Regions from separate parts of the Homo sapiens genome. Here all the other regions are linked to region 3. Evidence: promoter capture Hi-C in 16 types of primary human blood cells and fetal thymus (Javierre and others, 2016). All regions are on one chromosome and are shown on one strand. Each heading gives the region's core, a stretch centred on a gene start or on the middle of the fragment in contact. The rest is flanking DNA. Distances are from core to core; before and after follow the strand shown.

Evidence for each region. The method cuts DNA at HindIII sites, captures the fragments that hold promoters and counts their contacts. A CHiCAGO score of 5 or more calls a contact.
Region 1: a fragment that was not itself captured here is called in contact with the fragment with the promoter of POLB in region 3 in 1 of 17 cell types (neutrophils); the score reaches 5.9 in neutrophils.
Region 2: a contact is called between a fragment that was not itself captured here and the fragment with the promoter of POLB in region 3, in 1 of 17 cell types (neutrophils). The highest score is 6.2, in neutrophils.

What each region holds. Positions count from the first base shown.
Region 1 is chr8:41,494,268-41,497,981 of GRCh38, reverse strand. It overlaps GOLGA7 (golgin A7), which reads right to left. Exons shown (of 5, transcript NM_001002296.2): 2 at 321-473. Among named protein-coding and RNA genes, the nearest start is that of GOLGA7, 5.5 kb to the right of the region's middle. The HindIII fragment of the contact is 6,770 bases long and covers 1-3,714 here.
Region 2 is chr8:41,549,715-41,553,899 of GRCh38, reverse strand. All of the region lies in intron 1 of GPAT4-AS1 (GPAT4 and GINS4 antisense RNA 1), which reads left to right. Among named protein-coding and RNA genes, the nearest start is that of GINS4, 23 kb to the right of the region's middle. The HindIII fragment of the contact is 3,862 bases long and covers 815-4,185 here.
Region 3 is chr8:42,336,222-42,339,957 of GRCh38, reverse strand. It overlaps POLB (DNA polymerase beta), which reads right to left and starts at 1,464. Exons shown (of 14, transcript NM_002690.3): 1 at 1,273-1,464; 2 at 889-946. The coding sequence starts at 1,333. The HindIII fragment of the contact is 11,887 bases long and covers 1-3,736 here.

The DNA of each region.
Region 1 (3,714 bases), core at 181-2,680, 840 kb after region 3:
AGAAGAGAGTGAAATTTAGGGAAATAAAGTAAAAACATTCCCAGAAAGCTGAGTAGGAAGAGAACATATAGATTTTCTACATTCTTCTTAAGTGTAGGCCAGTCTGAACATTGACACATCATCTGCAAGTGGACATACCAACTGCAACCTGTTTTGAAAGACTCAGGACTATGTGCCTCTGTACACAGGAACAACACAATTTGAATGATAAATGCCCCTAAATATTTTACGGCAACTATCACCATGTAAGCATCAATGTGTAATAAACTTGCCTTCTTCATGATTTTAAGAGATTTTTGTGAAAACAAATGTAGCATTACCTTCTCATAATGAGTTTCCATGCATAGGAAGATGGTATATGCTGTTAAACAAGCCAAACAACCTTCGAGATATGACTGGCCGCCGAGCTTCTCTGCTTCTGCATAAAGGTTATTTAGAGTTCGAACTGTTTCTTCAAACTGCTGCCTATCAATCTGTAGAGAAGAAAATATTTAAAAATTAAGTTTTGGAAAAAAAAAATCAACTAATGCATGCTATCATTAATTTATCTTGTTTTCTCACCATTCTTAGTTGACAATTTTTTTGGTGACTAAATCTGGGCCTAAGTTACCAAAACTGCTTAATTTGTTTAATTTTATCCCTCTTATAAATACTGGATAGCTTCAAGGCTCAATAAGGTACTTCTTTATTCTTTCTACTAAATTTCAAGTAACTTTAGGCTCTATTCCTCTTTCCATTCATTTAGTTTCACACTTACTGAGCGCCTACTATCAGATACTATGAAAAATCTCAAGATAAAGCACTGTCTCAATCCTTAAGAGTTTAATTATGCAAGCAGAACAGGCAATGTAAACATAAAAATGCAGTAAGCTGGCCAGGTGCGGTGGCTCATGCCTGTAATCCCAGCACTTTGGGAGGCTGAGGTGGGCGGATCACGAGGTCAGGAGATGGAGACCATCCTGGCTAACATGGTGAAACCCCGTCTCTACTAAAAATACCAAAAAAAATTAGCCGGGCATGGTGGCGGGTGCCTATAGCCCCAGCTACTGGGGAGGCTGAGGCAGGAGAATGGCGTGAACCCGGGAGGTGGAGCTTGCAGTGAGCCGAGACTGCGCCACTGCACTCCAGCCTGGGTGACAGAGCGAGACTCCGTCTCAAAAAAAAAAAAAAAAAAAAAGCAATAAACTGACAGGGTACTATCATATAGGCAAATATAAAGCCTAGTGGGGACACAAAAGCAAGGAGAAATTCCCTTTATCTGGGAAGGGCAGGTAATCTTAAATTGAGTAACTAAAGACTGGAATTTACTAGGCAAAAAAAAAAAAAATGGCATTTTAGCAGAAGGATCAAAAGGCGTAGGTTCTATATTCTGTTTACTCAGCCTATCTCTTTTGAAGCAATTATCTTGTTACTAAATAAGGTAAAATTTGTTAAGGTAAAATCTCAAGCTAATAAACAATTTTTCACATTAAGTCATTCTTATTACCTCTTTCTATTTGGTGACACCATTATCTTAAATTTACACTAATACTACCACAGGTTGAGCATCCCTGATCTTAAATTCTGAAGTCAGAAAGGCTCCAAAATCTGAAACTTTTGAGCACTGACATGATACCACAAGTGGGAAATTCCAAACCCGACCTCATGTGAGGGGTCACAGTCAAAATGCAGGCGCACAACACATAGTTTATTCAGTGTCCCCAAGAGAAAAAGACCCTTCCAGCCCCCATCAGCTGCCATGTATCTTTTCCATGCACAGCCAGATTCTCCCATGCAAGCGTGCTCACAAAGGGTGATAAGATGGTTCAGTGTACACACACTTTGTCTCATAAAGTCATTTAAAATATTGTATAAAATTACCTTCAGGTTATATGTATAAGGTGGATATAAAACATAATGAATTTCGTGTTTAGACTTGGATCCCATTCCCAAGATATCTCATTAGTATAAACAAATATTTCAAAATCTAAAAAAACCCCAAAAACTGAAATACTTCTGGTTCCACATATTTCACATAAGAAAGAACCTGTACTGTCATCCATTGTTTCACTCAATCATCTGCTTTTACTTTATTCTTCCAATATTACTTTACTGTCTTCTAATAGTACTTTGTATAACAGATTTCAAATTTTGCTACTTCATCCCAGGACTTTCAAGGCCCATTAGGAGAGCAATCATCCAATACTGCCATTCTTATCTGTCTGCACTCTAGGCCTTCTCTCGCATAAGGATTCCCTTATTTCTAAAATTAATAACTACTTACGTATGAATTCTCTCTTTTATGAAGTCCTTATTTAAAAGACTTTTTTGTTTGGCTTTTTTTTTTTCTCCTTTCCTGTCTCTGTGAACCTATTAAATCTTTCTTTATAATAGAAACCGACTCAGAAAAAAAAAAATCAGGCTGGCGTGGTGGCTCATTCCTGTAATCCCAGCACTTGGGAAGTTGAGCTGGGTGGATCACTTGAGCTCAGGAGTTTGAGACCAGCCTGGGCAACATGGTGAAACTCTGTCTCTACTAAAAATGCAAAAATTAGCCAGGCGTGGTGGTGCATGCCTATAGTCCTAGCTACTCAGGAGGCTGAGGTGGGAGGATTGCTGGAGCCTGGGAAGTGGAGGTTGCAGTGAACTGAGATCTCACCACTGCACTCCAGTCTGGGTGACAGAGTGAGACCCTGTCTCAAAAAAAGAAAGAAAGAAAAAAAACCCTCAACATACAGTATGAGCCCTACTATTCACTATTCCCAAGAATGTAATCTTTTTTTTTTTTTTTTTTTTTTTTGAGACAGAGTCTCACTCTGTCACCCTGGCTGGAGTGCAGTGGCGCAATCTTGGCTCACTGTAACCTCTGGTCCCAGGATCAAGTGATTCTCGTGTCTCAGCCTCCCGAGTAGCTGGGATTACAGGCGTGCACCACCATTCCCTACTAATTTTTGTATTTTTAGTAGAGACGAGGTTTTGCCATGTTGCCAGGCTGGTCTCAGGCTCCTAGCCTCATGTGATCCACCCCCCTGGCCTCCCAAAGAGCCACCTGCACCTGGCCTCAAGAACATAATCTTTTAAAGTGTAAAACAATTCATGACCATCCTTAAGCTATGACAACTCTTTAAGTTAGAAGCAGTTGTAGTCATTGTTTTGTCCGTTGTGTGGAAAATGTGAGGAGTCAATGGGCTAGTGGCATGCATGAATTTAATGCAAACTTTAAAGTGGTGTTGGCTCTACCCATTTTTCAAAAGGAGTTACTTTAAATTTCCAGGAATATTAGAGATTTGGACAAAGGCTAGGTGGGTCAAGACGGCCTTTAAACGCAGGGGCAGTGTTTCTTCACTGAGCTACCCCTTGTAGATGTGGTGTCAAGGCTGGTCATCTGGGAAACTGTGAGTTCTCATTCACGAAAACAGACTGAGGAGAGCTCAGCAAACAAAAATGGTAAGCTGTTACGTTCACCTAATTATGCCTACGTTAATGCCTTCAGTTTGTCCACCGATAAGTCTACAAAAGTCTAAATAATTCCAATCACATTTGATGTGCCTATGTTATAAGTCATTGAATTATTTATATTTCTTTACAATACAATTCAAAACCATGGGATTCAACCCAGAAACATCTTATTTCTTTCATATCAGAATTACTGTTTATCCCGGAAACCCTAATTATTATTATTTTTTAAGTTTAGTGACAGAGTATCGCTATGTTGCCCAGACTGGTCTTGAACTC
Region 2 (4,185 bases), core at 1,496-3,995, 790 kb after region 3:
CAGGGTCTCATTCTGTCACCCAGGCATGATCACGGCTCACTGCAGCCTCAACTTCCTGGCCTCAAGTGATCCTCCCAATTTAGTCTCCTGAATAGCTGGGATTACAGGTGCATGCCATCATGCCAAGCTAACTTTTGTAGTTTTTGTAGAGATGGGGTCTACGTTGCCTAGGCTACTCTCAAACTCCTGGGCTCAAGTGATCCTCCCACCTTGACCTCCCAAAGTGAGAACAATATTTTTTTAATGCATAAATAAAATATGTAATGTCAAAGGAAATCTATTATGTTGAAACACAGTGATCAAAACATTAAAAAACAAATTTGCAATAACAGTAGCACATGTGCTTCTTTATTAATGCATTACATAACATGTTCTGGCAGCAGGTCTAATGATGACTGAAATTTTAAAATAGGAATGTAAATGACGTTTTGAGATATCTGCAACAACTGTAAATGTGGTAGGAAGGTATCTGATTTCTGTTGGTGACAAAGTCACAAGTACTGATAATATTACTGTGGCTTATCAGTACTTGTGACTTTGTTACCAATTGATAATATTACTGTGGCTTGGCTAGGCACAGTGGCTCACACCTGTAATTTCAGCACTTTGGGAGGCCAAGACAGGCAGATCACTGAGGTCAGGAGTTCAAGACCAGCCTGGCCAATGGTTGCAGTGAGCTGAGATCGCGCCACTGCACTCCAGCCTGGGTGACACAGCGAGACTCCATCTCAAAAAATGTATATACACACACACACACACACATATATTACTGTGGCTTGTTGCCTAGATTCATAATAGAAGGGAAATCTAAGCTTCATTTAGAGGTTAGTGCAAAAAAAAATGTATTTTTTTTTCATTTTTTTCTTAGCCAAGTTCATGAATCTTCTGAATTGCATGGTCCATGAAACCCAGATTTAAAATCGCTGCTTGAGGCTGTTGGAAGCACTGCTGTCTCTCAGCTACCACTTGGCCTGGGCAAATGCTGTATTGACCCCCGCTTTTTTTTTTTTTTTTTTTTTTTTTTGAGATGGAGTCTCGCTCTGTTGCCCAGGCTGGAGTGCAGTAGTGTGATCTCAGCTCACTGCAAGCTCCACCCCTCGGGTTCATGCCATTCTCCTGCCTCAGCCTCCTGAGTAGCTGGAACTACAGGAGCCCGCCACCACGCCTGGCTAATTTTTTGTAGTTTTAGTAGAGACGGGGTTTCACAGTGTTTGCCAGAATGGTCTCAGTCTCCTGACCTCGTGATCCGCCTGCCTCGGCCTCCCAAAGTGCTGGGATTACACACGTGAGCCACCACGCCCGGCCTGTATTGACCTCTTTTGACTGTGGTCTTCTAGATCTTGGTGCAACAATTCCTCACTAGCTTGTTAGCTCCTTGATGGCTTTAGAAAAATGCTTTTTATGTTTCACCCAGTGTTTGTCTTCACTAAAAATGATCCATATGGCCTAGTCCACCACTACAGCAGCAGAAGGCCCAGTACACTGCCAGGTTACCTCTTCCTGCATGTACTACAAGACCCTCATTCCTTCTGGCTTGGATTTGCCCACACAGCCCTGGCTCCTAACCCTCCAGTGTGACCTCCATTCTCCACAGTCACCAGAGGGATTTCTCTGTGAACTGGATTTCTAAAAACGTAAAACTGGGCTGGGTGTGCTGGCTCATGACTGTAATCCCAGCACTTTGGGAGGCCAAGGCAGGCGGATCACTTGAGGTCAGGAATTCAAGACCAGCCTGGCCAACATAGACAAACCCCGTCTCTGCTAAAATACAAAAATTAGCTGGGTGTGGTGGCATGTGCCTATAGTTCCAGCTACTCCAGAGGCTGAGGCATGAGAATTGCTTGAACCTGGGAGGTGGAGGTTGCAGTGAGTCAAGATTGTGCCACTGCACTCCAGCCTGGGTGACAGAGCAAGACTGCCTCAAAAAAAAAAAAAAGGTAATAATAATAATAAATAATAAATACATAAAATAAAAATGTAAAACGGATTCTATCAGGCGGGTGCAATGGCTTATGCCATTTGGGAGGCTGAGGCAGGCGAATCACCTGAGGTCAGGAGTTTGAGACCAGCCTGACCAAAATGGTGAAACCCCATCTCTACTAAAACTACAAAACTTAGCCGGGCGTGGTGGCGCATGCCTGTAATCTCAGCTACTCGGGAGGCTGAGGCAGGAGAATCACTTGAATCTGGGAGGCGGAGGTTGCAGTGAGCCAAGATTGCGCCACTGTACTTCAGCCTGGGGAACAAGAGCAAAACTCTGTCCACCCACCACCCCCCCCTGCAAAAAACAAACAAACAAACAAAAAAACTGATTATATCAAATATTAAAATCTTTCAGAGCCTTCTAAATGTTTTCATGCAAAATTCATACATTTACATTTTAGCATGACAAATCAGACTCCTGAAGACTTTTGTCTGAAAACCTGTCTCCCATGAGACTCCTATAAGACTCCTCCAAGATGGGAAACTGCCTCTCCTCCTATCCCCGAATCTTGTCTGATGCACCTGCCATGCCCAACTCCTGGGAGTTTCCAGAGTACTGGATCCACCCTGTGGCTTCTGTGCCTTTGCATGTGACCTTTCTGCCTCCAGTAGCCATCCTCTCTTCCTTCCTCAGCCTGGCTAGCTCTCCAGTGTTTCAAGTCTTGGCTTGGGTACCACCTCTTCTGGGAAGACTTCAGGACTCTTCCAGTCTTTCGAGTTCTTCCTGTGTTTTTTCATAATACCCCCTGTTCATTCATTTTTTCTTTTCTCTTTTTCTTTTTTTTTTTTTTTTGAGGCATGGTCTAGCTCTGTTGCCCAGGCTGGAGTGCAATAGTGCCATCTTGGCTCACTGCAATGTCCTCCTGTTGGGCTCAAACAAACCATCCTCCCACCCCAGCCTCCTGAGTAGCTGGGACTACAAGCACATTCCACCACACCTGGCTTTAGTATTTTTGGTAGAGGTGAGGTTTTGCTGTATTGCCTAGGCTGATCTAGAACTCCTGGGCTCAAACAATCTTTCCATCTTGGCCCCCCAAAGTGCTGGGATTACAGAAGTGTGCCACTGTGCCCTGCCCATTCCTACCTTTATACAAGCATAGTATGCTGTGATTTGGTTTTTGTTGGTCTCCCTCGCTAGACTGTAAGCTGCTTTAAGACAGGGGCTTTCTTCTCTGAATGTGCAGCACATACCACAATGTCTAACCCCACCTTTTTTTTTTTTTTTTTGAGATGCAGTCTCACTCTGTCATCCAGGCTGGAGTGCAGTGGCATCATCTCGGCTCACCTGCAACCTTCACCTCCTGGGTTCAAGCAATTCTCCTGCCTCAGCCTCCCGAGTAGCTGGAATTACAGGCACCCGCCACCATGCCCGGCTAATTTTTTTTTTGTATTTTTAGTAGAGATGGGGGTTTCACCATGTTGGTCAGGCTGGTCTTGAACTCCTGATCTCAAGTGATCTGCCTGCCTCGGCCTCTCAAAGTGCTGGGATTACAGGCGTGAGGCACCGCACCCAGCCAGCCTACCTGTTTGTTGACTAAAGTGAATGGAGTTATACCTGGCACCTGCTGTTGTTACTAGGTCACTTACCTCACCTGGCCACTCTTTTTAAACAAGTGCTGGAGTGAGAGGACACTACACCTCCTGCCTTCATTACCACTTTTGCTTATGAATTTTCCTACTTAGGAATTCATATGCTGTCAAATGGCTTATAAATCACTCATTCCCATACATGTTTTAAAAAGTGGGAACTAATATATATCCAAGTTACTAATATGTACTTATATATCTTTTATGTAATTCTTCCCCAAATTTGGGGTAGCTTTTAAAATTAAGGCAAAATAGAAGATTGAAACTGTAGGTATCATAAGGAGATCGGAAACTATTTAAGGAAAGACACAAGGAAGCTCAGAGGGAGGCAGGGGCACACAAAGTGGCTCTGAGTTCCTGGTAGGAAGGCCGGGAAGGGGAACAGATAGGACTCATTTGTCTGATAAAATGAACCATAAAGTTTGAAAATATAAACTTTTACTTGCACTGAATTCTGAGAAAAATTTATTACAGGGATTCTTATATAGAAACAATGGATATGTAATAGATAATGCCTTCAGTTCTAATTTTCAGAAAACATGGAAATGTTTTTCACATGGCTGTCTCTTTGCTAAAAGCAAAGAACTAAAACATTCATCCAGAAATACTGACTAA
Region 3 (3,736 bases), core at 215-2,714:
GGGAAGGTGCTAGCTAGAGGGAAGTTAAGATTGTTTTGGTTTTGCTTTTAAGAGCTGAGGGACTTGCACATATTTATAGGCTAAGGAGAGCTGACACCGAGGCTGATGCCTGGAATCCCAGCACTCTGGGAGACCAAGGTGTGTGGACCATTTGAGTTTAGGAGTTGGAGATCAGCCTGGGCAACATAGCAAAACCCGGTCTCTACAAAAAAAAAAAGAAAAAAAAAGAAAGAAAAAAAAATTAGCTGGGTGTGGTGGCGTGCGCCTGTAGTAGTCCCAGCCACTCAGGAGGCTGAGATGGGAAGATCACTTGAGGCTGGAAGGTTGAAGCTGCAATGAGCCATGATCATACCACAGCGAGACCCCGTCTCAAATAAAAATAAATAAATAAATAAATATAGGCTAAGGAGTAGAAGCAGGTGGATGTGGAAAGAATGAATAGGATAAGGCCCCTGGTGAGATGAACAAGGACAGGATCCCATGAACAAGGAACAAGGATCAGGATCAGGATCCCACAGGATCAACTTTAGACCAACCAAAAGAAAAAATGTGATTCCTTGAACCACATATATTTCACAGTATGGACTTCATCCGCTGTCTTTCATTACGGTTAAAATTACACCGCATTTCTAGTAATTCATGTTTGATGATGACAAAATACGTATCAGGCTACAGCTATCTGCAATCAGAATTGGGAACTTATCTGAACTGATCCTATAACGCACTGCCCACATTCTTCAAGAAATAGTAAGGTACCAGCCTCGATTCTTGCTTTTTCCCGCTCTTGCAGATGGACCAAATATCCACTGGGCCCTCAGTCCTGTTAATTGCCACACTAAACAGGGTATCCCAGAACGTATGCTACCCGAGAATGCTGCACTGTCCCACCTGTAAGCATTGTACTTGTGGATAGCTTGGCTCACGTTCTTCTCAAAGTTTGCGAGTTCTGAAAGGCAACAGAAGGCTCGGGTGAACAAGAACCACGAGTAAACAAACGAGAACTGTTTTCTGGAAGGGGATATGGCAGCCTCTAAGAGACAGTGACCACCCGTTTCCTCCAAGGGCCAGACCAAAAGCAGCCCAAGCGATGGCCCAGGTGTAGCCGGCAGGACTGACAACCAGCCAGGGGCGCCGGAGGGAGATCCCCACGGAAGACGACCCGCTGCAAGGAACCTACCCTACCCACTGGACTGTCGGTGTGGGAGAGAAGGAAGGCAGGGGAAGAGGCTGGAAGGAAAGAAGAAAGCCAGCGGGGCCCGGCCCGGTGCTAACCTGTGAGCATGTCGGTGATTCCCCCGTTGAGAGTCTCCTGCGGCGCCTTCCGTTTGCTCATGGCGGCCTGCACCCGAGAACCCCAGAGTGTTCAGAACCAGGGACTAGAGCCCTCTCCCAGCTTGAAGGAGGTACCAGGACTTGGAGACGGGAGCAGGAGCAACCCAGCTCCGGCGCGACCGGCGGAACAATGGTTGCCCCCGATGGGGGGCGGGGCGCACGGCGCTTGTTGTGACGTCACGCGTCCTGGGCGGGGCGGGGCGGGGCTAGAGGGGCGAGCCCTCGGCAGGTGAGGAGAGAGAACTCGGAGGGTTCGTGGACTCGTGGACGTGGACACGGCGCGGGGGAAATAGGCACCTCAGAATGACAGCCCAGGGGCCTTCCTATGGGAAGACCTGGAGTTTTGACCTAAGATATTAAATCTGTTTTCTCAGTGTTTATCTGGAATCCTTTCCCTAGAAGGGGAAACGGGAGTGCGATCTTGATTCTGAAATACTTGCGCTGGTGGGGTAGCTTCCTGCACAAAAATGTGCACTGTAATAGCTACCCAATGCATGGCGCGTTTTGTACGTGGTTAGAGGCGACACTGGCGTCACACTGTCAAAACTTTCTCTAAGGATACCGGGCAGTCCACACTCCAGTGCAGCCCCTTACGTACTAGGGCGCTGCCGGAGCCCGGCGTGAACCATGCCGAGAACAGGAATCCTCCCGCACACGTGTTAGTACACCTGCCAACCAGTGTCAAAAGATATTTTATTTTTAATCCCCCTGCCTTTGCGGTAGGGACCAAATTAATGAAGAGACCACAAGAAAGGGAGAAGTGTTTCATCTAGATCATGAGCAATGGAACCCTAATTATAACATGATGACCTACATCTGAGAAATTTACAGTCTGCTTGAGAAATGGAAATGTCACATCAGCAATAGTTTATTTTACAAGCGTAACTCCTGGGTTCATATCGAACTGCAATTCCAGGCAATTGCTTTGTGCATCGAAAAATTAAAATTTATTACAAAATGATACGTAGTTGCTGTAGAGAAATCTGGAAAAATGTATAAAAGGAGAAAATTAAAATCAGTGATCTCACCCTACAGCTGAACTATTAATATTTTGGGACGTACACTTCTAGTCTTCTAACCCAGTCTATTAAAAATTCCCATTATTTTCCAATAAATATCATTAGTTTCTTTGATTAGCAAGGTTGTGGTGATTGTGTTTCCTTACAATATCAGTGTATATCTTAAGTTATGCTTATTGGAAATCTGTAATTCTTCTTTTTTTGAATTTCCTATTCATATCATTTACCATTTTCCTAATGGGGGTAGTTTGTTACTAATCTGGTAGATCTTTTCTATATATTACTACTTGCCCTTTTATGGATAGCTTTTGTAAAAATTTTGTACATATTTGTATTTTCCTCAATTTATTACTTGAGGAATAAAAGTTAAAAAAACTTTATGCCTGCAACTTAACTATCTGATTAGTTAAGCTGCAGTGAGCAGTGACCACTCTCATTTACTCTTTATACTCTCATTTACATATATGACTTGTCCTAGTTTTCCCTGTTCACACTTTTTTCTGTCCAATCTCTATTCCAGGTGATATTCAGATTATTTTGCTCTGAAGAATTATTCCTCCTTAAATAAAAATGTATTTACCTCTGAATTTTAAAAGTTACAAATGTAGGGAATTGTGGGATCAGTTTTACAAATTTTTTTGTTTTGAGACAGAGTTTCACTCTTGTCCCGCAGGCCAGAGTGCAATGGCACGATCTCGGCTCACTGCAACCTCTGCCTCCCGGGTTCAAGTGATTCTCCTGCCTCAGCCTCCCGAGTAGCTGGGATTACAGGATCCTGCCACCATGCCCAGCTAATTTTTGTATTTTTAGTAGAGATGGGGTTTCACCATGTTGGCCAGGCTGGTCTCAAACCCCTGACCTCAAGTGATCCACCCGCCTTGGCCTATTAAAGTGCTAGATTACAGGCGTGAGCCACTGCACCTAGCCCATTTTTACAAATACTATATTTTTAAAATTAGTGCCAGAGAAACCAAGGAAAATAATCCATTATCTGTCCTTATCGTCTTAGAACAACCGACATTTGATCTGCTTCACAAAGTTCTTCTTGAAATAACTTGCTTCAATTGGCTTCTAAGATTCCACATGCTCTGGGCTTCCTTTTTCCTCACTGGCCAGTCCTCAGCAGGGTGTGTGTGTGCGCACATGTGCGCCTGAGCACTGGTTCCCAGCTCCTCCTCCACTCTCCAGCCTTTATGGGAAATGGCTTCACACTTCAGTCTTCTAACCAGCTTTTCCAACTTGTCCAGTTTTACCTGTTTAAATGGCATGTCTAGCTTGAAAGTCTCCTAAACTCATAGTTCAAGTCTTGACCTCTCCCTTGAGTTCCAGTCTCATACATCAGGCTGTCTACTGGATAGCTCTAGTCCATAATAGGCATCTCAAAG